Linked DNA regions of Homo sapiens: all the other regions are linked to region 3. The links are contacts of gene promoters, found by promoter capture Hi-C in blood cells and fetal thymus (Javierre and others, 2016). All regions are on one chromosome and are shown on one strand. Each heading gives the region's core, a stretch centred on a gene start or on the middle of the fragment in contact. The rest is flanking DNA. Distances are from core to core; before and after follow the strand shown. Region 1 has its middle 12 kb from the start of MIR30C2. Region 2 overlaps LMBRD1 (LMBR1 domain containing 1). Region 3 holds the start of FAM135A (family with sequence similarity 135 member A). Region 4 has its middle 32 kb from the start of COL19A1. Region 5 has its middle 58 kb from the start of B3GAT2. Region 6 overlaps OGFRL1 (opioid growth factor receptor like 1).

Region 1 (2,700 bases), core at 9-2,508, 950 kb after region 3:
TTGTGCAGTAATGAACACAGAACTACTTGGAAAATGCCAACTTAAAATAAAGTAGGCAGTTTGTTGTCCTACTTTGAAAATTATATCCTGTGTAGCATGTTTTGGGGTGTGGTGTATGTGTCTACGATCGCATACAGGTTGTATTCGTTTTTTGGAACATCATGTCACTCTGTGGGCCACATAGGTAGTGGTTAGGAAAATTCACAAGTCTTTTTCCACATGTGATGGTAAGTCACATGTCCCCCATGAAGTCCTTGTGCAATTAGCTGTCTGACTCCAGGAGCTGGACTTCCATATTTATACCAATTCAATTTCTTTGTATCCAACCCTGCCCATCCTTTCAGGCTGCTGAGATTTCACTTGGACCTTGATTCATCTACTGTAACACTGTTTGCTTCTTTTAAAAAATAAATCATAATTCCAACAATGTTTTCATTTTAATAAAAATTAAAATGTGGTGTAGGACAGGATTGAAAGCAGAGTCCTGTTGCTTGCCACCCAAATCCTCCCTCTAAATTGATGATTTTTAAAGCAGTACTTTTAAAGCTATGTGACACACTATTGGTAGACTATAACCCATTTTCTTTTAGCCATTTAACATTTATGCATGCACATCTACCTGAAAATGTAGCCAAATATTTGAGGATCTTATAAAACTTAGGATTTTTATTTCAGATAAATGGGTCAAACAATCTTCTCTTTCAATACACTGTCTTCATTCTTTCCCTGCCTTTCTACCCCCTACCCTAGTCCATTTCTCAAAGAATAAAATCCACATAGGTACCTTTTAATAGGTTCCATTGTTTCATTTGAGTATCACCAGTGTACATAATGTCACATGCTTTCTATTAGCTCTTTCTCAGCATGTATTGGCATTTTAATTTTACCTTAATTTTTTTCTCTTCTCCTTAGGCAGGATAACAATCCATTTGCCAGTTGGCTGCCTGTATGTTCCTAATAATAGACTATGACCTAATCGCAAGTATATTCACTGAACATGGGGGACTTACCACCTACAGTGGGGGCATAAAAAGATTATTTCTAATTAAGATAGCAATGAGAATATTTCATAGGAATTTATCTCCTGTAAAATTCTTCTACAGTAATATACATCCACATAAGCTCAATACAGTGAAAGACCACATTGTTCTAAATGGAAGGTCAATATTTTTTTTAACGAAAGCTTGTCGTATTTAGATTTATATCAAATCCCTGCTCGCAAAACAAATAGAACAACAAAAAGCCTGAACACTTACTGTAATTAAGTAGATATTAGACTAAACACAGGACCTACTGGAAGAGCTACACTTTACACAGGAGTGTAAGTTTCATCTAAGCTTTATTTGCTAGTTGTTATTACCAACAGAAAATGATGATGCTGTTCAAGTCACCAAGAAGGGCTTCATCCCTTTAAGATTCAAAAAAGTTTCATGTCTTTAGATTTTAGAAAAAAATGATATAGCAAAAGTAATCTGTATACTAATTTGTATATTAACTGCAGTGGTGGTTACAAGAATCTATGCATGTAATAACATGGTGTAGAACTACACACACACACACACACACACACACACACACACACACAATTGTACCAATGTCAGTTTCCTGGTCTTGCTACTGTGCTGTAGCAAATGTTGTAAAATGTGACCACTGGGGGAACCTGGGTGAAAGGTACATAGGATCTCTCCAAACAATTTTTGCAACTTCCTATAAATCTATAATTATTTCTAAATTAAAATAAAAACATCCCAATCCTACATAATCTATTCACTGTATAGTTCATCCCAAAAAAGTTAGCTTAGTATCATTTAACCAATATTTGCCAAGGTTAAACATAACTTTATTGCCTTTAGTCATTTCTAGAATGAGGCAGGATTATAAACAAATAATCTACTTTATGAGTCACTGAATGCTTAGGAATTTTGTGATTAAATGAATAAAGTAAACTTATAAAGTGAAAGTAACCAAACAGTCAATTTTCAGCAAGTAAAAGAAAGAGAGAATCCCAACTCTAAAAAATTAGGCCTGCTAATTAAGCGGTTAAAGCCTTCTTTTTGTTTTTTCCATATTACATGAACATGTATTGCCCCATAGGTCATTCCATAATCAAATAATGGAAAAAGCAAGGTTCTCAGAATCTTCTATTCATTTAGTTTCAGGAAGATACTCCTCAGGAAAGACTCAGAGTTGCATGTGATTCTCTGTTGTTCACTGTCATGATAGTCAATGCTATCCAGCTAACCTGTTGAGCATACTCAGCTGGTAGATTGGGAAATCCCCACAATTCTAAATTTAAACATATGAACCCGGATAATTTGGTGTTGTGTACATAAAGTGATTTTATATATATATGAAACCGACCCAATAGTCCCCTAGACAGTTTTTTTTGGATAAACATAGAAATTGCCCATCTGGTTTTAAAATTTGAAACTTACATTTGTTTTATCAGAGTTCCTTCCTCAGGAAACCACATTCAGACCTCTCAAAAGAAAAAGAAAATTAAAGAACTGAAACTCACCAGATCACCACATCCAGACAATGAGATGCCAGACCCTTCATTCATCATGATTGCTTCGTTACCCCTCCTCTCTAGTTCTTGTTTTCTTACACATTGTTACATAGCAGGGAAGACCCTGCTATATAAACCCCTAGTTTTAGTTGGTCAGGGAGATGGATTTGGGACTGAGCTCCCATCTCCTT
Region 2 (2,700 bases), core at 35-2,534, 630 kb before region 3:
TGCAGATTCTCCCCTTCAGCTGACCTTCTACACGATAGAGAACTCCAGTCCTCGGTCCAGTGTCAAGGCTTCTCTGACTACTCAGTCTTCCCAGCTGCTAGTCAGTCCATAACTGTAGATATCATCCATATGTTGCTTCCCAAATACTTCTCTCCAGCCCTAAGCTCTTCACAGAGCTTCAACTCCCTACTTAACACCTCCACCTGGATAGATAGTACAGTACACACTTTAAAGGTAGCCTGTCCGAACTATAACTCTTTTCTCTACACCCCCTCACTTGCCCATGCACATGCCCTCTTATTCCTCTAAGTTTCCCTATTTCTCTAAGGTATACAAAAACCTAGGCATCAGTGCTCCAATTTTCTTTTTCTTTCACCTGTCCCCCTATATCTAATCTATCAGCAGATCCCAGCAGCTCTACCTCTAAAATACATGCCAATTTTAATCATTTTTCTCTACTAGCACCACTCTAGCCCAAGTCACCTTTATCTTTTACCTTCATTAACTTCATATTGCAGTTAGGAGAAAATCTAAACTTATTAATATGACTTAAAAGTCATGAACAGTCTGGCTCCTGCCTTATTCTGGATCTCAGCTTTTACCAAAGCAAAACCCTCAACAATACATGTCAGCCAAATAAGCCAAGTTCATCCTGGCCTAAAGGCCTCTATATTTGCTGCTGCTTCTCCCTAAAGGCTCTCTCCCTCTGGCTCTTTACTAGATTGGCTCCTCATCCAGGTATCATGGCAAGAAACCTCAGCAGTTTTGCCTTCCTATCCCCCTCTCCAAAACACTCATAACCTGACTAGACTCTCATATCAATCTATTTCCTCATAGAATTTATCACTATAAAGTTACCTTATCTTATTTGTTGATTATTGATCTGGCCTTGCAGACTAAGCTCCATGAGAAAAGCAACCTCATTTGCCTTAATGATTAATCTCCAGTACCTACAATTGTCAGGCACATACTATATATTTAGTAAATATTAAGTAAATAAACATATTTAAGGTTCAATAAAGAGCACAAAGTTCTAAGATACAGTTCCCACCATTTGAAAATAGGAATGAGGGAGCAGTAGAGTTTAGCCCAGACATCTAATAACAGTCCATAAAGATATTCATAATTAGGGAACAGGAGTAAGATATGAACAAACACCAAAACATTAAATGTTTTCATGACATACCTTAATATTAACTAATTTTTTTATTTTTACATGTTGTGTAAAAGAAAGAATATTTATTCATATTAGTGTCGATTTCTTTTTTTTTTTACTATTGGATCAGTATATTTCATGTATATCCCCATCCAATGTTACTGGCCAACTATCAAAGACTGTTAAAGACAGCACTTCCAGCTGTACTCTAAAAGGTTCTCTTCTGTTATCTAAAAAGTTAATTACTTTAGAAAAGAAGCTAGAAACAAATTATCTAGCTAAAATTATTAATAATGCCATATGCTGAAAGAAAGGTCAACAGAAACAACTCAGGCATTATAATATACCCCTGCCATAAGAAGGCAGAGAAAGCTAGAAGGGTAACTAAAACAAAAATAAAGAAACTAGCAATGACTGCCTGCTCACAGAAAAGCCTGGGCACCTTCTGTTTTTAAGAAAAATGTTAGCAATCATTAATATGTAGAGTTTCCAAATAATTATACCTTAGAAGACAAGTCCATAATTAGAGAGAGGCTTCAAAATATTTGAGGTGGAAGTAGAGAAAGTTAGAGAATGTATATATTCATTTAGGAATTTCAAATGCACACTGTAAATATTATTATACATTAGCATTCATCATGGAAAACAATGTCAACTTGTACATTCATCTTTACAAACAAGGTTGGAATAGACCAAAACCACGTTGGCATCCTTTTTACTCTGACTACATTTACAATCGTGGCATGAAGTTTGAAGAATTAATTCTTAAATACTTAAACTTATCTTTCACTAGGCACCTGAATTCAGTAATAACTTTAGGAAAAACTACTGTCTAGAGTTTATCAGGAAAATGTTTTCAAAAATTTTTTCAGTACTACTTTTGAGAGTCAGCAAATAGTCCAGTTTCAAATAAAAACTCATGAATTTCACTAATCCTCACCGAGCCGCCCAAAATGAGAAGGGAAAATACAGACACACAGAATGTTTCAAGGTATCAAAAAAACTACCAAGAAAAATCTGATACATTATCTAAGTTAAAAGCAAACAGAACTAGAGACAACTTAATAATGAAAAGTAGGAAAGGCCAGTCACAGGGGCTCATGGCTGTAATCCCAGCACTTTGGGAGGCCAAGACGGGTGGATCACCTGAGATCAGGAGTTCAAGACCAGCCTGGCCAACATGGTGAAACCCCATCTCTACTAAAAATACAAAAAATTGGCTGGGCATGGCGGTGTGCATCTGTAATCCCAGATACTCAGGAAGCTCTGGCAGAAGAATCGCTTGAACCCAGGAGGCGGAGGTTGCAGTGAAACTCCGTCTCAAAAAAAGAAAAGTAGAAAAAAACAAGAACCAACAACTGATGAATAACTAATATCCTAATAATGAAACAAAGTTTTAAAAAAGTAGAGGGAAAAGTTTTAACAGATATTTTCCCCTTCTAAATATTAGTGTAACATTTAGATTTAACAAATATAGTGTGTTAACTACAGCCATATTTTTTTTCTTTTAAGGGCACATGTATTAAAACAAGCACCCTCAATTT
Region 3 (2,700 bases), core at 176-2,675:
ATACAAATGCAAATAAATTGGTTCACAGGATAAGAGGACACCCAATCATGTAAAAACTGGTACAAGCCAGGCACGGTGTCTTAGGCCTGTAATCCCAGCACTTTGGAAGGCCAAGGCGGGTGGATCACCTAAGGTCAGGAGTTCGAAACCAGCCTGACCAATATGGTGAGACCACGTCTCTACTAACAATACAAAAAGTAGTCAGGCGTGGTGGTGTGCGCCTGTAGTCCCAGCTACTAGGGAGGCTGAGACAGGAGAATTGCTTGAACTCCGGAGGCAGAGGTTGCAGTGAGCCGAGATCACATTACTGCACTCCCGCCTGGGCGACGGAGCAATGCTCTGTCTCACACACACACTCGAAAAAAAAAAAAACTGGTACAAAGATATATTCAAAACCTGTCCCCTAAATGGCCTACGTTACAAGACCTCACCATTACTTTCAAATGAATGCACAAAGCTTTTCCCTTCTAATTCATTCTTATTGTGGTAAAATATACATAACAGAAAATTTACCATTTTAACCATTTTTAAGTGCACAGTTCAGTAGCATTATGTCCATTCATTGTTGTGCAACCAACACCACTATCCATCCTAGATTCATTTTTAAAACAAGAGTCGCAGCTGAAATTTTCCTTTCATTAACTCAGCTTTAGCAACATACTGAACTTTATGCACCACAAAAGTTTTTGCCAGATAAGGTTCAGAAACAGGGAAGAGTGAAATAAATCAATGATCCTTCGTGGGCTTCTGTTAACGGAATGTATTAGCGAAAGGCTTCACTTCATCAGCCCCCTCCCGCCCTTTTTGGCGTCATAAACCAAGAAACAACCAGATCAGCACCCACATCTCCCAAGATGCAAACACTGGGTCCCGAAAGGCATCTGTCCTGCCCCGGCGCAGATCCCCTGCAGCCTCCTTTCCTACTGCACAAATCGACTAGCGCAGGGACCGGGCTCTCTACCCGGGACTGCACGGAGGAGCTAAAGAGAGAAAAGGAGAAACAACATTGTGAGAAAAACGGCTAAAGTTCTCGAACTCCGTGTTTTTGCCCTCTTCTTGTTCACTACTCTTCAACCACCTCCAAGTTCCATCCCTTAAACCCACAAGCGAGCCCCTTTTCTTGACGCGCGCCTTTTATTGACGCAAACCTCCCGTTCTCGCGGGAACTTGGGAACGGGAGCCTGGTAGGGAGGACAAATCTCTCGAAATCTCAGTTGGCGCTGGAGCTGGAGGGGCAGTTGAAGCTCCTGAAGGGCGGGGCACGGAGCTTGAAGGGGCGGGGCCTAGCCTCAGAGAGGGGAGGGAAGAGGCGGGAGGAGGAGGTGAGAGAGGCCGGGGGCGGGGCCGTGCGGCCGGGGACCTGTTGATCGCAGGTATAGCCGGCTGGCCCGGGCTCCCTCGGGACTGGGGCGACTGCGCATGCTCGCTGGCCGCGCTGGGCCAGTAGCCGAGCCGCGGTGACGAACCGGCTCCGCGGTTGCGGTGTTTGCGGTTGCTGTGATGGCGATGTGAGGGGGCCCGGGGCGGGATGGTGCTGACCCGGGTCGGGCCGTCTTCTTGCAGCTGGACAACGAGCTCCTCCGTTCGACAGGCGGGGGAAGAGGCCGAGCCGGGCGAGAGGTAACCCCCTTACTGTCCCCTCTGGCTCCCCCGGCTCCCGACACCCACGACCCCTCCCTCCGTCCCTCTTGCCCAGGGGCCAGGAAGGAAGCGGCCTCCTCTTCGTCCGCCGTTCGCCCGCCGCGGCCCCTCACCCGACTGCTGGCGGTCGGAGCCTGGCCCCGGCCCCGTTGAAGGTCGGTGGGGACGGCGGTGCGGAGCGCTCTGAGGGAGGCGAGGGGCCGCGGCGCGCTGCTCTCCCGGTGCCCGCGGCCGCCCCTGCCCCTGCGCGCGTCCCTCGACCCGTTCTTCCTGAACCTCGCGCCTAGCGTGTTTGCCCTTCACCCCTGCTCCATCTTCGTCGCTCTGTCCCTCCTTTACCCGCTTTCGTGGTTCTGCTTTTTCATCCCGCGCCTCCCACGTGTCTTTTTGCCCGGGTGGTCCCTCCTTGGGAAGCAGCGTATCTCTGTGCTTCCATCCCTTGCCTGGCTCTTCCCTGTCCGGAGCTCCTTACCCTGGCCGACCAGGTTTCTCACTCTTGTTACCTCCATAATTTCTTCCTTGGTTTTATTTTCCTCTCATCCACCTCCTTTCGGTACTTCCTCCTGGTTCCCTTTTTGTTAGTTGCCGATTGTGTTTTGCTTTAGCATCGCTTTGCATTGGAGTTCATTCCATGCCCCATCTTAGCTTCGGAAACCCTCACTGCCTTCTCTTTCCTCTGGTACCCTGCTTCATCGCTTTCTGTCTAATGGCCCCTATCCTCACGTCCTTTTCCATTCTGCACCCAGTGAGTCTCTAATCTTAATTTTTTCCCCTCCAAAACTCTTCCACCCTCCCCCCCCCATTTGTATAAGTCAAGCCTCTTAACTTCATTCCATTTGTTTTACTTTTTATTAAATCTCTGAAGACTTCTTTGTGACATACCCTTCTAGTCCTTGCTGCTTTCTGCCTAAGCTAGGTATCCACTCAATGTTTCTAGTTCATCTTCCAGTTTAATAACATTTCTTCTTTCTTTACCGGTTGGTGGAAGTATCATCAAAAGAGTGACAGTAGCAACAAATCGGTTACACTTACTGATTAAAGCTTTAATTTTTAAGAATT
Region 4 (2,712 bases), core at 62-2,561, 580 kb before region 3:
GTAGTTTCAAGATATCATTGGTAATTCATTAACATTTTTACTAATAGAAAGTTGCTTTTCCCAGAGAAATTTAGAATTAGAGACAAATTCCCTCTAGCAATAACCAGAGACAAAACCAACTTAAGAAAAACAAGACAAAAAAAGAGAAGTTCCTTGGCCAGGCAAGGTGGATCACGCCTGTAATCCCAACACTTTGGGAGGCCTAGGCAGGTGGATCGCTTGAGCACAGGAGTTCAAGACCAGCCTGGGAAACATAGTGAGACCTTGTCTTTATTTTTTTTAATTTAAAAAATTATATAAAAAAAGAGTAGTTCCCAAAACATAGTATAATTGGCCCTCTGTATTCATGGGATCCATGTCCTTGGAATTAACCAATGATGGATCAAAATATTTGCATCTGTACTGAACTTATACTGACTTTTTTTCTTGCCATTATTCCCTAAGGAACACAGTCTAACAACTACTCACATAGCATTTACACTGTATCAGCTATTATAAGTAATCTATGGGAGATTTAAAGTATACAGGAGAATGTGCATAAGCGATATGCAAATAGTAGCCCATTTTATTTCAGGGACTTGAGCGTCCTCAGATTTTGGTATCTGAGGGAGGCCCTGGAACTAATCTCCCATAGATACCAAGGGATGATTGTACCTGTTTTAGGATTCTTTCTCATCAGATATTGTAAGCTTATTCATCATGATCTCAAGAGAAACAACTTTAGATGATTGATCAAAGTTCCATGTGTTTGTGCATTTGTTTCTCTATCAATGTGGCCTAATTGTCTTATCTACCAACTGCTGCAGTAATTCCATAAAGATTCGATCCCCCTCAACTTTTATTTGCTTTTCTCTTTAACTTTTGTATTTCTAATGATTCTAAGAAATTTGCCCTTTTGGAGTATTCACCGCACAGGAGCACTATAGTTCATATATTAGTTTTGAATTTTTTATCTAGATGAGTAAAAATAAAAAAGTAGAAACCTTTAGGCAGTTATATATTCAGAGACTGTTTCTGTATTGTAGAAAACCATAAGATAAGAGCAATTTTGTTTTGGAGAAAAGAATATATATTTACAAATTAATTACCTTTTTAAAAAAACATATTAGGTAACTTTGCAAAGTAAGATATATATGCTCCTATTTGTAAATTGGTTAACAAATAGCTTAAATCCTTGACATTTCAAATGTTTGCATTGAGTCCCAAAAACCAATTTGAAAATAAAAAGCATAATTAAATCTGCCAATTTTATTCAAATGTCCAAAACATTCTAGTTGAATTTTGACAGAGGTGATCATTCCACATTTTGTACCTTACTAAAACTCAGAGTTGTCTTATCTGGAAAGCCAGTGATTTGACAATTTTCCTCTTGCTCCCCTAAATTTGCTTTCTTATTGTCTGATAGGTGCACTTTTTACCCAGAAGTGGCTCAGTAATGCTTGCTTTGGATTACAGTCCTAAGCAATATTTTTGAAAAGATTGGAAATAAAATTTCTATAGAAACTAACAATATGATACAATGTTGAAAGGTTGGAACTGGACTAAGGGGATTATTTAAGAACAACTGATAAATGTGTTGAATCCTCTTCAGAACAGTGTATGGTTGGGTCAGTTGGGATGAGACTAATTCTTCAGGGTGTTGTAGAAGTGGCTATACTGAAGGATGCTTTATTTTGCCCTTCATCAGGTTCAGTATTGCCTAATTATGTTTTAGCTCTTGAGAAGTGTCAAATGGCCTGAATACTAAGACTTCGCTGCTCCCAGTAGCCACTGAATCCTGGCATTGGGTAGTTAAATATTTTCCTAGAGTAATAAACACATTTTCAACTACACGGCAAGAAGAAAAAAATAAACCAGAAGTTTAATTAAGTATAGGTAGAACAATTAAGGAATAGAAAAATATAGGTTAAAGCACTTAAAGTGGCCTCTTACATAAAGCTTGTTGATAATAGGTGATATATTAAACAGTGTTTTGAGATACTACTGTCCTACATAAATTTAAAGTATTATAATTTTGAAGCATTGATGACATTTTTCAATGTGAAACTTCCAAAGATTTTTGTCAGAATAATCAAAAGTGATTACTCTTTTTGTAGCTAATAAATATTTTTAAAGGTTATGTAGGAATATAACATGAATACTATGGTGAGTTGTCAAGCATGAAGGATGTCTTTTTATGAACAAAATTCCAGTTAACTAAATCAATCTGTGTTCTCATTCTTTTAAAAACCCTTGTAAAATTTTATTTCCTTTCTTTTAATTATTTCTAAATAGTTACACATGCACAATAAACTCAACTGGAGGAATATTTAAATTGACCAAAAAGGGCAGTACAAATGATTAGCTGAAATGTATAATGTAATCTTTAAGCCGTGAAAAAATGCAGATAGCAAAAACATTTTGTTTTAAAATATTTTCCATTCAATACTAAAAGATACTTTTGGTATTAAAACTGTTAACTGGAATCTTGTTCTTTTTATAAAATACTGATTTTATTAAAATTAGATTGTTTCTAAAATACACTGGAGTTCATTATACACCAAGATTACACTTACTGCGAATTTATGCTGCTGATTCATAAGCACCAGAGAACGAAGTTCATAATGAAACCACTGACATCATTGTGTTTAAATGTACATAAACCTTTGCTATTATGATCTGTTTTATATTTCATATTTACCTATGAATGATTTATTTTCCATAAGAAACTCT
Region 5 (2,700 bases), core at 145-2,644, 600 kb after region 3:
GAGATATATTTCTCAAAAGAGAAACAATAACCAAATATATTCAGTTTAGCCATTAACATTTTTCTCTTATTTCACTTTAATGGGATTATCCTTATTGATAATGCTAAATATTTACTTGGGCCTTCAACAAGGGGTGTGTGTGTGTGTGTGTGTGTGTGTGTCTGTGTCTGTGAAATTGTCCTATAACCAGCAATTTCAGATGAATGAGTATAAAGTGCTTCAGGCACTTGGACTAAAGCTGGTTCCTAAAAGCTTGCTGCACAGGGTCCATTGTCAAAGGAAGAAAAACTGGTGTTGGAGGCTGCCTGCCATGCTGGGTTGATTATTGGGATTTCACACTCTGTTCTGTGGGGACAAGAACCATCCAACTCTGGAAGGATTGACATCTGGAGAATCTGGCAAGTTAGGGAAGGGACATGAGGAAAAACTATAGTTTAAAAAATTTTAATGTTATAGATAGGACTGTAAAAAGCCAGGAGTATGATAACAGGAGTTCTTCAATTTTAGGTAAAAAATTTATTTAAAAAATTTCCCAGCTTTAGTGAGGTATAATTGACAAATAAAACTTGTATATATTTACAATGTACAATGTAATGTTTTGAAATATGTGTATGTTGTGAAATGATTGATCAAGCTAATTCACATATATATTATCTCACGGAGTTATGTTTTGTGGTGAGAACATTTAAGATAATCTCTCAGCAGTTTTCAAGTATATAATATTTTTAAAAGTATATGTTATTATTGTTTATAGTCACCATACTGTACAATAGATCTCCAGAATTTATTCATCCCAACTGAAATTTTGTATTCTTTGACCAATATCTCCCCATCACAGCCCCTTCCCCAACTTATTTATTTCGGATTTGATTTGCAGAGCGATTGATAGACTTCTATGTTTCAGACACTGAAGTAACTAAGATGAGTAAGACAAGCTTCCTGCATGTGAGATACTTCTTCTTAAGTAATGGAGAAGAAACTTGGGTAATTACCATTAGTATGAAGAGAAATAGCTGATAAATAGTCTTTAGAGCAGTAGTTCTCAAACACAAACGTGCATTAGAATCACCTGCAGGGTTTGTTAAACTACCGATTGCTGTGACCACGCCCAGAGGTTTGGCTTCAGTAGGTCTTCGGTGGGTTCTGAGAATTTGCATTTCTAACAAGCTCCAGGTGATACTGATGGTTTGTCTACCACTATTTTAGAGGGGGGTGGTGGTGGGTAGGGAAGGCTTCAAGGAGGAGTGACAACTCTGCTAGGACTGGTAATAAATATTAAGAGTTTGGTAATGGAGAGGGGGCATGAGCATGCCAGGCAGAGAACGGCATGAGAAGATACATCCGGGAATGAGTGAGCCATTCAGGGACACTAAAGTTCCAGGCACACGGGGAAGAGCAGGGAGATGAGGCCCAAATTGCAGGCCAGGGCATTTCTCAAGGGCCTTGAGTGCTGGGTTAAGAGTCAGGACATTGCCCCATGAACAATGTGGAACCATTAGAGGTTTTTCAGAAGAGTGACATGATCAGATTTGTTTCCTAGACAGGAAATTGTTTACCATTTGAAGAGAGGAGAACCAGAGGCAGGAAAAGCAATTAGGAAGCTGTTTCAATGGTCCAGGTGATAGATATTAGGGGCTTTAACTGAGCTGATGGAGGTAGGAATGAACACACAAAAACAAATGAGAAAGAGATTTAGGAGGTAGGATCAATTGTAATTAGGGACAGAGAAAGAGGAACTGAGGTCCATGATGTAATGCTGGGGTGCCTGAATGGAAAGTCTTAGTGTAAGTTGAGATACTATAAGATAAAAAGTCATTTTTGGAGGAAAATAGTTAAATTGATTTTGGAAAGAATAAGCTTGAAGTGTTGTTTAAAAAAAAAAAAAAGAAAAGAAAAATGGGGACAGGTTGGCAGCACCTGTGTTAAGCCAGAATTGAACTAATGAACTAGTGATGGAATTAAGGTTTATATTCATCCTTTAAATGTTAAGCCATGAAAAGATGGACTCACATTTTTTTTTCTTATTATTTCAACATAGCCAATTGAAATTGGGAGTTCATGTAGTCAGGGCTACATAAAAAATTATTCTATCCACTACTCATACACATCCTATGTATAATGTGCTTAAAACATGATTAGAGAGATGAAACAAGGACACTTGAAATGATAAGAAGATTAGACTTTAAGTACATATTAAGTGAGTGATGTGGATGAGCGAGATTATTTCCAGTTAAAACATTCAGAGAAAGCTTCAACATCTTTCCCTTCTTCTTTATTACCTACCTCTTTTCTCTGACGCTCATCAATCAGGTATCTTTACCCCCTTGTTCATGCCCTTTGGCTAGCAGAAGGGCTGAGCAGAAAATTTCATAGAAACATAATGAAGATGTGTTAAGAGGCCCAGGAGATTCTCAATGGCAGGGAGTTAGAGGGCAGGTCAGAGACAGCAGTGTATCTCAATTTTAACGTGCACGGAATCACCTGGAAATCTAGTTAAAATGCAGATTCTGATTTGCCAGTGGGGCCTGAGATTCTGCATTTCAATCAAGCTCTCAAGTGATGCCTCTGTGCTGCTGGTCTGTGGACCATACTGAGTAGCAAGGTGCTAGGGCATTTTCGGCCCACGTGGTTGAAACTATTGGCTGTGGAGTTAGACAGATTCGAGACAGAATATTGCCTCTGTCAGTTATTAGGTGGTTA
Region 6 (2,700 bases), core at 77-2,576, 880 kb after region 3:
GCAGCTGCTATGGTAATATGACCACAACATTGCATATTTCATTGAGGCATCATGCTGTGGTTCATGGTGGTCATCCTAATTTTATCCAGGTCACCCTAGGAAAGCTGGCTTCTCTCCCAAGAGCCCTTTTCTGTGTGAGGTGGTCAGACTGCCCTGGCTTCTGCTATTTGCTCTCAGTGGAAACTGAGCCAGTTCCACAGCAGTGTGAGTCACAGAAGGAAGGAGATAGACTGCAAGGCTTTCAAGTGGCAGGACCTTGCATTCTTTGGTGAACTAACTCGAGGCAAGAGGTCTAAAGCCTGGATTGAGTTTGGGAGGAGGGAGTCCCAGTACTGTGTACCAACAGACCTACCAGTTGGGAGTTAATATTTGAGAACATCGTTGACGTGGCCAGATCTACTTGTCTTTAACTTTCTGGTGTCCTGAAAGTCTGCTGTGATGTGGAATGAAACCTCTGGATAAAATTGCACAGTTATATTTACTAATGATAGAAATGTGCTGCTTTATTTACTAATGGAAAAATATTGGCCAAATTATTCATTTTGTTAGGACTTGGGGTAGAAAAATATTTTGAAGAAATGCAATGATAGATTGTTAATTTGAGTCTGATTTGAATTTCATACAATTTTCCTAAAGGAATGCCTTCACATATTAAAAATATTAAACATAAAGCTATGATAGTATTTAACTCTATTTTTTTCTACTAGGGAATTTATTTTGTAAATATTAATTTAAAAAGTAATTTCAAGCAATATATTGAATTTTTGGTAATCTTTACTACAAAGTTTATTTTGAAATCTTATGATTGGTGGGGGTCAGAAGTTTTAGCTAAGGTCAGATAAAATGTTTATCCTAGTTTATTATACAAATTATATCAACTCACTTTCCTCCCTAGTATACACACACACGCACACACGCACACACACACTACTTGCCAGTAAGCATAATCTTGCAATGGTATTTATTTATCAGGCAGGAGGAGTGGTAGTTGGAAAGGAAAACAAATGGAAAATTACAGAGGTAAATGGTTTCAACATGCCAATAAAGCCAACATTATGATTCAAAACAACTTTTTACCAAACCTTCCGAGAGTGGGCCTCTACTACAAACTGGTGATCTCTGGAGGAAACAAGAATGAGATGAGTTATGTTCGGAGAAATATTATATTGCTATTTTATTTTCTACAACATTGACTAAATGGCTAGTCAATTGTAAGGACCTTGACAGACTTAGGAACAGGAGGATTTTGTTTTTGTAAGTTCTTGTAGAGGAAAAGTGGACAGGGTGAAAAGGGCTTACTTCTTGGAACCAGAAAGACCTATGTTGCACTCAAGATTTACTTTTTTACTAGTGTGTAACTTTGAACAAATCTCCCAGTTTCTTCATTGTTAAAATGAGGATCATAACACTGGCAGCATTCTGTGAAGACTAAGCTGGAAAATGTGCGCTCTGTGTAATATGGGCACAGCATGTAGTAAGCACTTACAACTTTTTCCTACATTTTTCTTTTCTCGTTTTCCTTCTCCTTTGTTTTCTCCTTCTCATTTCTTTTCTTCTATTTCTACTCCCCTTTCTTTCTTTTTCCCTAGGATGCAATTCATTTTGATCCAATTTAGCATTTAAAGAACTATATAACTCCTAGGACTGGGATTGGCAAACTTTCTATACAGGGGCAAATAGTAAATATTTTGGGCTTTGGGGGACAGTGGGTCTGTATTGCAACTACACAGCTCTGCTACTGTAGTACAAAAACTGCCATAGACAGTACATAAATGAATGTGCATAGCTATATTCCAATAAAACTTTATTTAAAAAACAGCTGGCAGGCCACAGTTTGCCAAGCTCTGCTTTAGAGTACATTGTCCAACAAAGCCTTGTGCAATTTGAGGTGCTATTAATTTTTTTTAATTAGATTTATCACATAACCGAATATATGGGCATAGGGTATTCATCTTTTTAAAAGCACTATTCTTGTGTGCTATTATTAAATTTAAACAAGTTTTCATATAAAACTCAAGTGATTCGAATCTTAAAATGCCTTCACAATGTTTGAAATGTCTGGTTCATTTTTAAATATTTACTATTTAGGTGTTTACATTGAAGAAGTTCTAAGTAAATGGAAAGGAGATTATGAAAAACTGGAGCACAACCACACTTACATTCAATGGTCAGTTACATATTATCTATCTTGAACCATGTCCTATTTAATCATGTATGTTTTCCAGACAACGTTAATAGAAAAATTTTATTTTTTTAAAATAAATAGGCTTTTCCCCCTGAGAGAACAAGGCTTGAACTTCTATGCCAAAGAACTAACTACATATGAAATTGAGGTAATGCAAGCTCATTTCATTTTATACAGGGTGGCCAAATAATATTGCTATTTCACTGTCCTTGTAGCTACTGAATCATTTCAGGTGACTTTTTTCATTTTTTATATTAGGAATTCAAAAAAACAAAAGAAGCAATTAGAAGATTCCTCCTGGCTTATAAAATGATGCTAGAATTTTTTGGAATAAAACTGACTGATAAAACTGGAAATGTTGCTCGGGCTGTTAACTGGCAGGAAAGATTTCAGCATCTGAATGAGTAAGTAAAGCCCCTGTGATAAATCAGGGGCCAGCACAGTTATTTTCCCTTGGTCAGAGTTCTCTATGAAACGCAGGAACAACTAGCAGATGAGATGGGCCCAGGAATTTG

The links. Contacts are between HindIII fragments. The CHiCAGO score rates a contact against its expected background, and 5 or more counts as called.
Region 1: a fragment that was not itself captured here is called in contact with the fragment with the promoter of FAM135A in region 3 in 1 of 17 cell types (total B cells); the score reaches 8.4 in total B cells.
Region 2: a contact is called between a fragment that was not itself captured here and the fragment with the promoter of FAM135A in region 3, in 1 of 17 cell types (activated CD4 T cells). The highest score is 5.8, in activated CD4 T cells.
Region 4: a contact is called between a fragment that was not itself captured here and the fragment with the promoter of FAM135A in region 3, in 1 of 17 cell types (non-activated CD4 T cells). The highest score is 5.6, in non-activated CD4 T cells.
Region 5: a contact is called between a fragment that was not itself captured here and the fragment with the promoter of FAM135A in region 3, in 1 of 17 cell types (M2 macrophages). The highest score is 5.3, in M2 macrophages.
Region 6: a contact is called between a fragment that was not itself captured here and the fragment with the promoter of FAM135A in region 3, in 1 of 17 cell types (fetal thymus). The highest score is 5.4, in fetal thymus.

Annotation. Positions count from the first base shown.
Region 1 is chr6:71,364,145-71,366,844 of GRCh38, forward strand. No RefSeq gene overlaps it. Among named protein-coding and RNA genes, the nearest start is that of MIR30C2, 12 kb to the right of the region's middle. The HindIII fragment of the contact is 154 bases long and covers 1,182-1,335 here.
Region 2 is chr6:69,785,225-69,787,924 of GRCh38, forward strand. All of the region lies in intron 2 of LMBRD1 (LMBR1 domain containing 1), which reads right to left. Among named protein-coding and RNA genes, the nearest start is that of LMBRD1, 10 kb to the right of the region's middle. The HindIII fragment of the contact is 6,423 bases long and covers 1-2,700 here.
Region 3 is chr6:70,412,083-70,414,782 of GRCh38, forward strand. It overlaps FAM135A (family with sequence similarity 135 member A), which reads left to right and starts at 1,426. Exons shown (of 22, transcript NM_001162529.3): 1 at 1,426-1,620. It overlaps FAM135A-AS1 (FAM135A antisense RNA 1), which reads right to left and starts at 1,876. Exons shown (of 2, transcript NR_147708.1): 1 at 1,755-1,876; 2 at 746-980. RefSeq lists silencers at 1,233-1,452, 1,793-1,942. The HindIII fragment of the contact is 2,225 bases long and covers 456-2,680 here.
Region 4 is chr6:69,832,995-69,835,706 of GRCh38, forward strand. No RefSeq gene overlaps it. Among named protein-coding and RNA genes, the nearest start is that of COL19A1, 32 kb to the right of the region's middle. The HindIII fragment of the contact is 1,249 bases long and covers 688-1,936 here.
Region 5 is chr6:71,013,853-71,016,552 of GRCh38, forward strand. No RefSeq gene overlaps it. Among named protein-coding and RNA genes, the nearest start is that of B3GAT2, 58 kb to the left of the region's middle. The HindIII fragment of the contact is 922 bases long and covers 934-1,855 here.
Region 6 is chr6:71,294,229-71,296,928 of GRCh38, forward strand. It overlaps OGFRL1 (opioid growth factor receptor like 1), which reads left to right. Exons shown (of 7, transcript NM_024576.5): 4 at 2,089-2,167; 5 at 2,267-2,333; 6 at 2,444-2,589. The region is part of intron 3 of LOC124901339 (a long non-coding RNA gene); the gene reads right to left. Among named protein-coding and RNA genes, the nearest start is that of OGFRL1, 6.8 kb to the left of the region's middle. The HindIII fragment of the contact is 3,243 bases long and covers 1-2,700 here.